3 separate regions of the Homo sapiens genome follow, and regions 2 and 3 are each linked to region 1. Evidence: promoter capture Hi-C in 16 types of primary human blood cells and fetal thymus (Javierre and others, 2016). All regions are on one chromosome and are shown on one strand. The core of a region is centred on a gene start or on the middle of the fragment in contact, and the rest is flanking DNA. Distances in the headings are between cores, read along the strand shown.

Region 1 (2,700 bases), core at 110-2,609:
GAGATATACTCCAGCTTCTTGAGCTCCCCCAAGTCCAGGCGCATGAGGGAGGGCACCCGGTTGAAGGCGTAAGAGGGGATGCTTTCGATGGGGTTGTTGCGAAGCCAGAGCTCCCGCAGCTTGGACAGGTATTCAAAGGCCCCGCTAGGGATGACTGTCAGCCAGTTGTCGAACAGCTCCAGGGTGTTGAGGCTGGCCAGGCCGTTGAAGGCCCCCACCTCAATCTGCCGGATGGAGTTCCTGCCCAACTGCAGGACCTCCAGGTGGTGGAGGTGGCGGAAGGTGTCGGCCTGGATCATCTGGATGTTGTTCTCCATGAGGTTGAGGTACCGGGTGTTCGAGGGAATACCCTGCGGGACCTCGGAGAGGCCCCGGCGCGTGCACACCACCTTGCTGAACTGGTTACTGCACGAGCAGACGGAGGGGCAGTTCTGGGGCCCGGCTGAGGCGGCAGCAGCGATGGCTGCACACAGAATCCACACTTGCGCCGTGAGGTAGACGAACGGGAGCAGGATGGCATTCCAGGTGTGGTGGTGCACAGTTACCTGCCACAAGAGCTTCATGGTGTGGCACGTTCATAATTCACCATCGCCTGGGATTTTGGCTCGGAAAGGAGAACCAGCCCTACCCCGGCTTAAGTGAGCTAGGAGCTCCTCTTTCCATCTGGAGAAGGAGGTGGGGAGGGGGCGATTAGAGAGACGGAGCGGATCGGCCGAAAAAAATCCTGCCAAACTCGAGCGGCCCCTGGTCTCCCAACCCACCCTCAAGGCAAGCCCTCCGAAAGCTACGACTCTCCCACACTGCAACCGTCCCCACCCAGTTCGCCGTCACCTACCTCGGAAGGAAGGCAGGAAAGCACTGGCGTGGTGTCCTTAAGCTTTCTCCACGGGAGCTGGGCACCTCGTTCCCATTCCGACTTCTTAGTTTTAATTAACAAAAGGGGGAAGTGGTGGGGGCGGGGAGGGCAGAGGGGAGGGGAGGGGAGGGGAGGGAAGGGGTGGGGGAGACAAAATGGCCTCTAGTAAATCCGGAGCCGGAGCCGGCGAAGCCGCGGAGTTGAGGCGCGCCTGGGAGAGCCAAGGCCCGGCGGGCTATGCAGGTGCATGCCCCCCCCTCCGCCCAAGGAGCGGCGCCACCAGCGCTTCCCGGCTTTGTCCTTGGACCCTGGCACCGGCTCGCTCCAGCCGCGGGGGAAGGCGCTTCATCGCCAAAGTGCGCTCCGGCGGCCCCGGCCCGCTCTGCGGGCCGCCGCCGGAGGGAGTGCGGGGGCGCCCCGAAGCCGCCCAGGCCGCACTCGCTGGATGCTGCGCTCCCTCTCCCGGCGTCGGCCGCTCCGGGCCGGCGGCAGCTGATTGCGGTCGTGAGCTCGCGGAGCGGCGAGAGTTAAGAGGAGGTGTTCGCGGCGCCTTCGCCCTCCCCAGACACACACCCCCTTTCTCCTCGCCTCTTCTCGGAGGGTGGAAGAGACAAAAACGGGGGGTCAGTTCTCCAGTCCGCCGGCTGCCGGCACGCGGGGCGGCGCTCCGTCCGGCCCCCGAGGACCAGCGGCGTGGCGGCTGCGCTCGGACCCGGTCCGCCGGCCGGAGGAGCGCGCGGCGCCCGCGGTCGCGCCCGCACCGCAGGCCCCTTCAGAGAGTCCGGGGGCGGGCGCGGGTCCGGCGGCGGCGGCGGCCGCAGCCCCCGGCGGCGCGCAACCGCCCGTCGCCGCCCGCCGCTGCCCGGCCCCCGGCGCGCCGCCGGCTCCGGCTTTGTGCGGAGGGAGCGAGTTCGCGGCTTCGGCTCCCGGCGCCCTCAGTGGCCGCGCCGCCAGCGGACTGCTGCAGCGGCGTGAGCAGCGGGGGTCGCGGCTGCGGGAAACGCTCCGGAGCCCAGGAACATAGTCCCCGCTGGCTAGCGGCGGCAGCAGCAGCAGCGGGGCCCCTGCGCGCGGCGCCCACCGTCTCCTCCTCGCGCCGGGCTCGCGGTGTTGCAGGCGGCAGCCACGCAGACTGCTCTCTCATCCTTTTGTCCTTCAGTCAGAACGTGAATGTACTGCTGACGCATACTGTTCTGGGAGAAGATTAGCGTGATGCAGTGCTCTTATGTATTAGCGCCGCTCCCCCTCCGTCGCCTGCCTCGCGGGGTTAACGCCGGCGCCTTCCAGCGCCGCGCCGGCCGGCGCCGCGCAGCCCCGCGCCTCCGGCCGCCCGTCTTCCTCTTTCCTCCTTCCTTCCTCCTCTCTTCCTCTCTCCCCCTCCCCCCTCCCCCCTCCCCGGGCCGCTTCCTCCCCGCCCCCTCTAGACGAGCGGAGCGGGGCCAGGGCGAGCGGGCGAGCGAGCCGGAGTGAGCGTCAAGTGAGGGGCCGCGCGCAAGTCGCAGGCGTTCGCAGCTATTTTGGGCCGGTCGGAGGGAGCAGTTGGGTGGCCGCTGATAGGCTGGAGCGGCGCGGGGCTGCGGCGGGAGAGCCCGCGCCGGCCCCCGCCCTCCGGCCCGCACCCGGGGCCCCCTGGCTCTGAAGAGCGGGGCTCAGGGGCCCGGCGGCCCGCGGCGGGGCTGCTGCATTTGGCCTGCCTCTCGCCCGGCCCGCGTCATCCTCACCCCCGCTGACTGCTGACGGGGCGCGGACTCGCGTTCGGAGTTCGGAACTGCGTGGTGGGGACTCGGGGGACGGCGGCCGGGGCCACGAGGCTCCCAGGACCGAGAGCCCGGGCTTCGCTGCTG
Region 2 (2,968 bases), core at 77-2,576, 160 kb after region 1:
GATCAACAGAACAGAATGAAGAGCTCAGAAATAGACCCAAATTTATGTGGGAATTTAGTGTGTCGTAAAATGGCATCTCATATCAGAGGGGAAAAGACAGGTGGTGCAATATATAGGGCTGGGACAGCGGAAGATACATTAGGAGAAAAGATGATTCCCACATTACTCTTTACATCAAAATAATGGAGAAAATATTCAAGTTAAAGCTGAAGTCATAAAAGCACTAGAAGAAAACACGGAGCATAGACACACACCAACACCCCTGTACACACACACACACACACACACACACAAAGTCTTGGAGTAAAGAAAGACTCATGAAGCCATAACACACACAAAAATTAAATCAGCCGGGCATGGTGGCTCATGCCTGTAATCCTAGCACTCTGGGAGGCTGAGGCAGATAGACTACTTGAGGCTGGTAGACTGCTTGAGGCCAGGAGTTCAAGACCATCCTGGGCCACATGGTGAAACCTCGTCTCTACTAAAAATACCCAAAAAGTTAGCTGGGTGTGGTGGCATGTGCCTGTAATCCCAGCTACTCGGGAGGCTGAGGCAGGGGAATTGCTTGAACCCAGGAGGCCAAGGTTGCAGTGATCTGAGATTGAGCCACTGCATTCTAGCCTGGGTGACACAGCGAGACCCTGTCTCAAAAAAAAAATTAAATCAACTATATAAAAATGACTTACTTCTGCACTGGAAAAAAGCCACATATATAAGATCTTACATTATGATAAATTGAGAAGAGATATTTAGAAGCATACGTGGCAGACAAATGACTACTTTTTTCTATATAAATAATTTTGTATAGATACAGGGTACCTTTGAAAGGACACATACATGTATCCCCCCCTTAGGTATCTCTCCCTCCCTCCTTCCCTTTCCTCCCTTCCTTCCTTCCTCCCTCCCTTCCGGCCTTCCTTCCTCCTTTCCTCCCTTCCTCCTTTCCTCCCTTCCTCCCTTCCTCCCTTCTTCTCTTCCTTCCCTCAAATGAGGAGAAAACAGCATTCATGTTATCCCAGCACCTTTTCTTGAACAGCACCTTCTTTCCCTCACCAACTTGAAATGCCAATTGGATTTTATATTCTGCTCCTTTGATCTGTCTGTTTCCTCTGACACCAGAATTTTACTGCTGCAATTACTACAGATTTAAAATATACCTTTTTCATACTTGGTATGACAAGTGTGCCCTGTTCTAATTCAGTCTTTTTCCCCGACATTTTCTTATTAATTTCCTCATACTTATTCATCCAGATTAATGTGAGATTCATTTTATCAAATTCTACTCAAAACTCAATTGAGATTTTGATTGCAATTATGGGAAATGCATTAGGTGAATTTGGGCAAGACTGACATTTTTACAATATCAAGTCTCCTCATCTTGAAACAAAGTATGGCCTCCTCTTAATTCAAATTATTCAGTAAAGCATAAGGGCTTTTCTGTACGGGGTCTTGCACTCTTCTTGTTAAAATTCTTCCCTAATATTTTATATTTTAGTTGCTACTATGAATGAAATTCTCTTTCCCATTCTATTTTCAGGTTGGTTGTTGCCACTGTGTTCAAAAGCTAAGAAAATTATCTACATTTATTTTATAACTGCCTTATTGAACTCTCTTATTAATTATAAATTTCACTTGATCTTCAGATTTTCTGTGGAGTAAATCGGGTTTTTGACTCCCTCTTTATAATAATTAAATCACATTTTTTTTAAAAAAAGAAAAAGTCTCTTTTTTTTTGTTCTTTTTTAAGACAAAGTCTCAATCTGTCTCCCAGGCCGGAGTGTAGTGGCCCGATCTTGGCTCACTGCAACCATCGCCTCCTGGGTTCAAGCGATTCTCCTGCCTCAGCCTCCCGAGTAGCTGGAATTACAGGTGTGTGCCAGCACACTTGGCTAATTTTTGTATTTTTAGTAGAGACGGGGTTTCACCATGTTGGCCAGGCTGGTCTCGAACTCCCGAACTCAAGTGATCCTCATGCCTTGGCTTCCCAAAGTGCTGGGATACAGGAAGGGCCACCACACCCGGCCTTATTTTTCTTTTGACTAGAACTCACTTTCAAACAACATTTCATGACAGCGTTCATCAAGGAAATTCTTATGCATTCACAGGTCAGAGTTTTATCTTTAAGTATAATGTTAGCTCTTGGTTTAGATTTGTTCTTTATCCTGCTTTGGGATTATCTCTTTATTGCTAGTTTAGTAAGAATATTTTTTTTAAAAAAGTGTATTGGATTTTATCAAATGTCCTTTGGGCTTCTATCAAATGATGGTATGATTTTCTCCTTTCATCTATTCATGAGATAAATTGCATTAAGAGATTTCCCAAGGCTGGGCACAGTGGCTTACGCCTGTAATCTTAACACTTTGGGAGGCCAAGGCGGGCCGATCACCTGAGGTCGGGAGTTTGAGACCAGCCTGACCAACATGGAGAAACCCCGTCTCTAATAAAAATACCCAAAAAGTTAGCTGGGTGTGGTGGCACATGCCTGTAATCCCAGCTACTCGGGAGGCTGAGGTAGGAGAATCGCTTGAACCCGGGAGGCGGAGATTGTGGTGAGCCGAGATCGCACCATTGTACTCCACCCTGAGCAATAAGAGTGAAACTCCGTCTCAAAAATAAAAAAAAAAAAAAAGAGAGAGAGAGATTTCCCGATGTTGACAATTTTCAAATTCCTGGAAAAAAACTTTACTTTGTCATTATGTTATTATTTTTATTATTCTTCTGCTGAATTCTATTTGTAATATTTTATTTTTGTTCTCACTAATGTTGGTATCTGAGAATATAGATTGCTCTTCCAAAAAGCTTAGCTGAGATGGGGAGAAAAGAGAGGGCCAGAACTCTAGCGAGACCCAGGGTGGAGGAAGTGGACATTGCGAGCATATTAATAGGCTTTGGGGATGTAGCCAAGAAGAGGAAGAACTTGGGGATATGAGAGAAGGAGGAGAGCAACGAGGCACCAGGGGAGAGA
Region 3 (2,871 bases), core at 268-2,767, 160 kb before region 1:
CTAAGCAGTGGGCTAGACCCAGCTTTTTTGGTACTCAACAAATTGGAGTCTTCTCCTGTCAGATGATTCTATTCCTTTTCATATCGGCCAGACATACTGAGCTCGAAGAGAAGCCAAGAACCTAGACAACTCATTTTGAAGAGCTGTCCAGGTTGATTGGACAACCATTAAAATGTATCACCACTTGTACAGGGAATATTCCAGATGTGCTTTAAGTAGGCATAGTCATTCATATTTAATGAGTTACTAAGTTGGATTATGAGCTATGGTTCAAGAAGCATATAGCATTTTGGATTGGGAAATCTAAAAGCTAGGGGCTGCCCATCAATAATAGCTTTGATTCCCACCAGGAGCTGAAATAATTAAAGGTGTTTGATGCTGCCTAGGTGTTCCTTGGGGTATTGAGAGAAAGCAATTTCATTAGGAAGGTAGTGATTTAGTTATTTATATGTTAAAGAATTCTGTTATCAGTTCTTTCCTTCTACTCTTGCCATCCCTCCACTCCATGCACTCAACAAGGCAGATCCAAGCATTTCGTACCTGCAGGTTTTCCCCCTCTTCAAATCTTGCTGCATAATACTCCTGGATTAATTTTCCATAAATGCTGTTTTAATGGTGCTATTTCACTACCATGGCTATTTTAGACTTTGACCGCTTTTGTCCACCAAGCCCCCCTACTTAACTATATCTCTTCCTATCACTGTCAGCAGTCTCATCTCTTACTTTATGGAGTAAATATAGGGTTATCAGGAAGATGCCTTTAACTTCTTGTTCTCTCAGCTTCCAGTTTGCCTTCCTTGTTATGCTTGCTTTCTTACCTCCTGCCTTCCCATCTCCGTAGACAGTTTCACCTTCTTCTTTCCAAACTAATTGTTCTGCCTACATGCTCTAGATTCCAGTTCTTTTGTTCTCCTTGGGATTTTGTGCTATTGGCTATTCTCTTTTTAACTAGTGTTATTTTTAATTGTCCTTCAGTCTTCTATCCTATTATATCTGCTTTTCTTCTTCTTGCCTTCTCTTCATAGCCAAGTTAATTAGAATAATTAAAAGACATTTTAATTCTGTCCCGTTTGCTATTCATTCCTTTCCCTTCTAGCTTTGAACCTTCCCCATCATTCACCAATGCTTCCCTGAAGGACACTTCTCAGTCTTTACTTTTACTTGACCTCTCTGGAGTATTTAATACTTATCTTTTAAAATCTTGTTTTCTTCTACCTTTTCAGTATACCACACTTTCGTGGATTTCCTTCTACAACTCTGATAACTTTTTCTCAGTCTGCTTTGAATGCTCCTTAAATATTTGTGCTTCCTAGGCTTCTGTCATTGTCCCTCTTCTTACCACTATTCAGTCTCTGGGTGATCTGATGGTGATGCTGCTGACTTCCCTTTCCCTGTCTCTAGCAGGCTTCCCACCTATATTCAACTGCTGTTCCTTTACTCAAATGATCGCGTCTTTTGATGGTGTCACCATTTACATAGTCTTTTAGTCTAGAGATCATGTTGTCGTCTTTATCTCCTCCTAACTCCCAGTATGTAATTACCTACTGGTATATCAGGTTCATCCTATCCTGGCTCTCCTCACTGCCTGGTTTATGCTGTCAGTGTAGAATAACTCAGCAGTTCTTTTTACTAGCCTCTCTATTTCTAGTCTTACTGCCCTCCAATCCATTTTCTACATTACTGCTTTAATTCTCTTTTTGAAACACACATCTGATTTTTAGAATCATTCCATAACCTTAGGAGTGGAGTATACTGAGCCATGACCTGGCCCCTCCCTACCTCTCCATGTTTATATTTACATTCCCTGGTTCTCATTCACCATTCCTTTAAAAAAAAAAAAATTAAATGCATTACTATTTAACTTAATCTGCTCTCTGCCTGGAACATACATTTCATCTGGTTAGCTCTTACTCATTCTTCAGTGCTTCATTTCTCAGGAAAGTTTTGCTGTAGGTACTCCGTCTAAAATCTGAATTGTGCATCTTGTGTGTGTCTTCCCCCAACACTTGGTGCTTACTTATAATAAGACTCATAGTAGGTCAGGCATGGTGGCTCACGCCTGTAATCCCAGCACTTTGAGAGACCAAGGTGGGTGAATCACTTGAGCCCAAGAGTTCAGGTCCAGCTTGGGCAACATGGTGAAACCCTTTCTCTACTTAAAAAATAGCCAGGTGTAGCAGCATGCGCCTATAGTCCCAGGTACTCAGGAGGCTGAGGTGGGAGGCTCACTTGAGCCAAGGAGGTGGAGGTTGCAGGTAACTGTGATTGCACCACTGCACTCCAGCCTGGGTGACAGAACCAGACACTGCCAACAACAACAAAAAGACTCATAGCACACACAGCACTAGGTGACAAATAACTATTTTATTCCCAGTATGTAATATCTTTTCTGCCTTATAGAGGGTATTTGACTTAACAAATGCTCGTGTCCTTTCCATGGCTCCCCATGGGGTATGTCTTTATTTCTAGGCTTGGCTAAGGTCCGAAACACAGATGATGCCTTCTGTGGCATCATTTAGAGCATTAGCTTTGTCTACCACCCTAGAGGTCCTTCAGGTCAAGTTAGTCCGCTTGGTATGATAGAACAGAAAATATGACTTAAAAGGTAAATGTCTTTCTCAAGTTTCATCTTACTAAAGCCAGACTTGGAATTTAAAATCTCATGTTTCCAAATGTAAGTAAAACTCAACCTCATTTGCATGTAATCTCCAAATTGCACCTGTTTTCTTAGGCCACATGAACATTATATGGTTGTTTTATTTTTTTTAACTTTAGTTTGTGGGTATTTTTTTTCCTCCATCTCTAGTCAACAGCTTATTTACTGAGTTGAGTACATGACGTTGCCAGGCGCCAGTTCTTTGCACTGGGGAT

The links. Contacts are between HindIII fragments. The CHiCAGO score rates a contact against its expected background, and 5 or more counts as called.
Region 2: a fragment that was not itself captured here is called in contact with the fragment with the promoter of LRRC4 in region 1 in 1 of 17 cell types (M2 macrophages); the score reaches 6.8 in M2 macrophages.
Region 3: a contact is called between a fragment that was not itself captured here and the fragment with the promoter of LRRC4 in region 1, in 1 of 17 cell types (neutrophils). The highest score is 8.6, in neutrophils.

The regions. Positions count from the first base shown.
Region 1 is chr7:128,030,078-128,032,777 of GRCh38, forward strand. LRRC4 (leucine rich repeat containing 4) reads right to left here and starts at 1,360. Exons shown (of 2, transcript NM_022143.5): 1 at 836-1,360; 2 at 1-663. The coding sequence starts at 563. All of the region lies in intron 16 of SND1 (staphylococcal nuclease and tudor domain containing 1), which reads left to right. RefSeq lists silencers at 1,804-1,923, 2,574-2,643. The HindIII fragment of the contact is 11,709 bases long and covers 876-2,700 here.
Region 2 is chr7:128,185,488-128,188,455 of GRCh38, forward strand. No RefSeq gene overlaps it. Among named protein-coding and RNA genes, the nearest start is that of MIR129-1, 21 kb to the right of the region's middle. The HindIII fragment of the contact is 2,948 bases long and covers 1-2,800 here.
Region 3 is chr7:127,866,073-127,868,943 of GRCh38, forward strand. All of the region lies in intron 12 of SND1 (staphylococcal nuclease and tudor domain containing 1), which reads left to right. Among named protein-coding and RNA genes, the nearest start is that of SND1-IT1, 130 kb to the right of the region's middle. The HindIII fragment of the contact is 5,508 bases long and covers 1-2,871 here.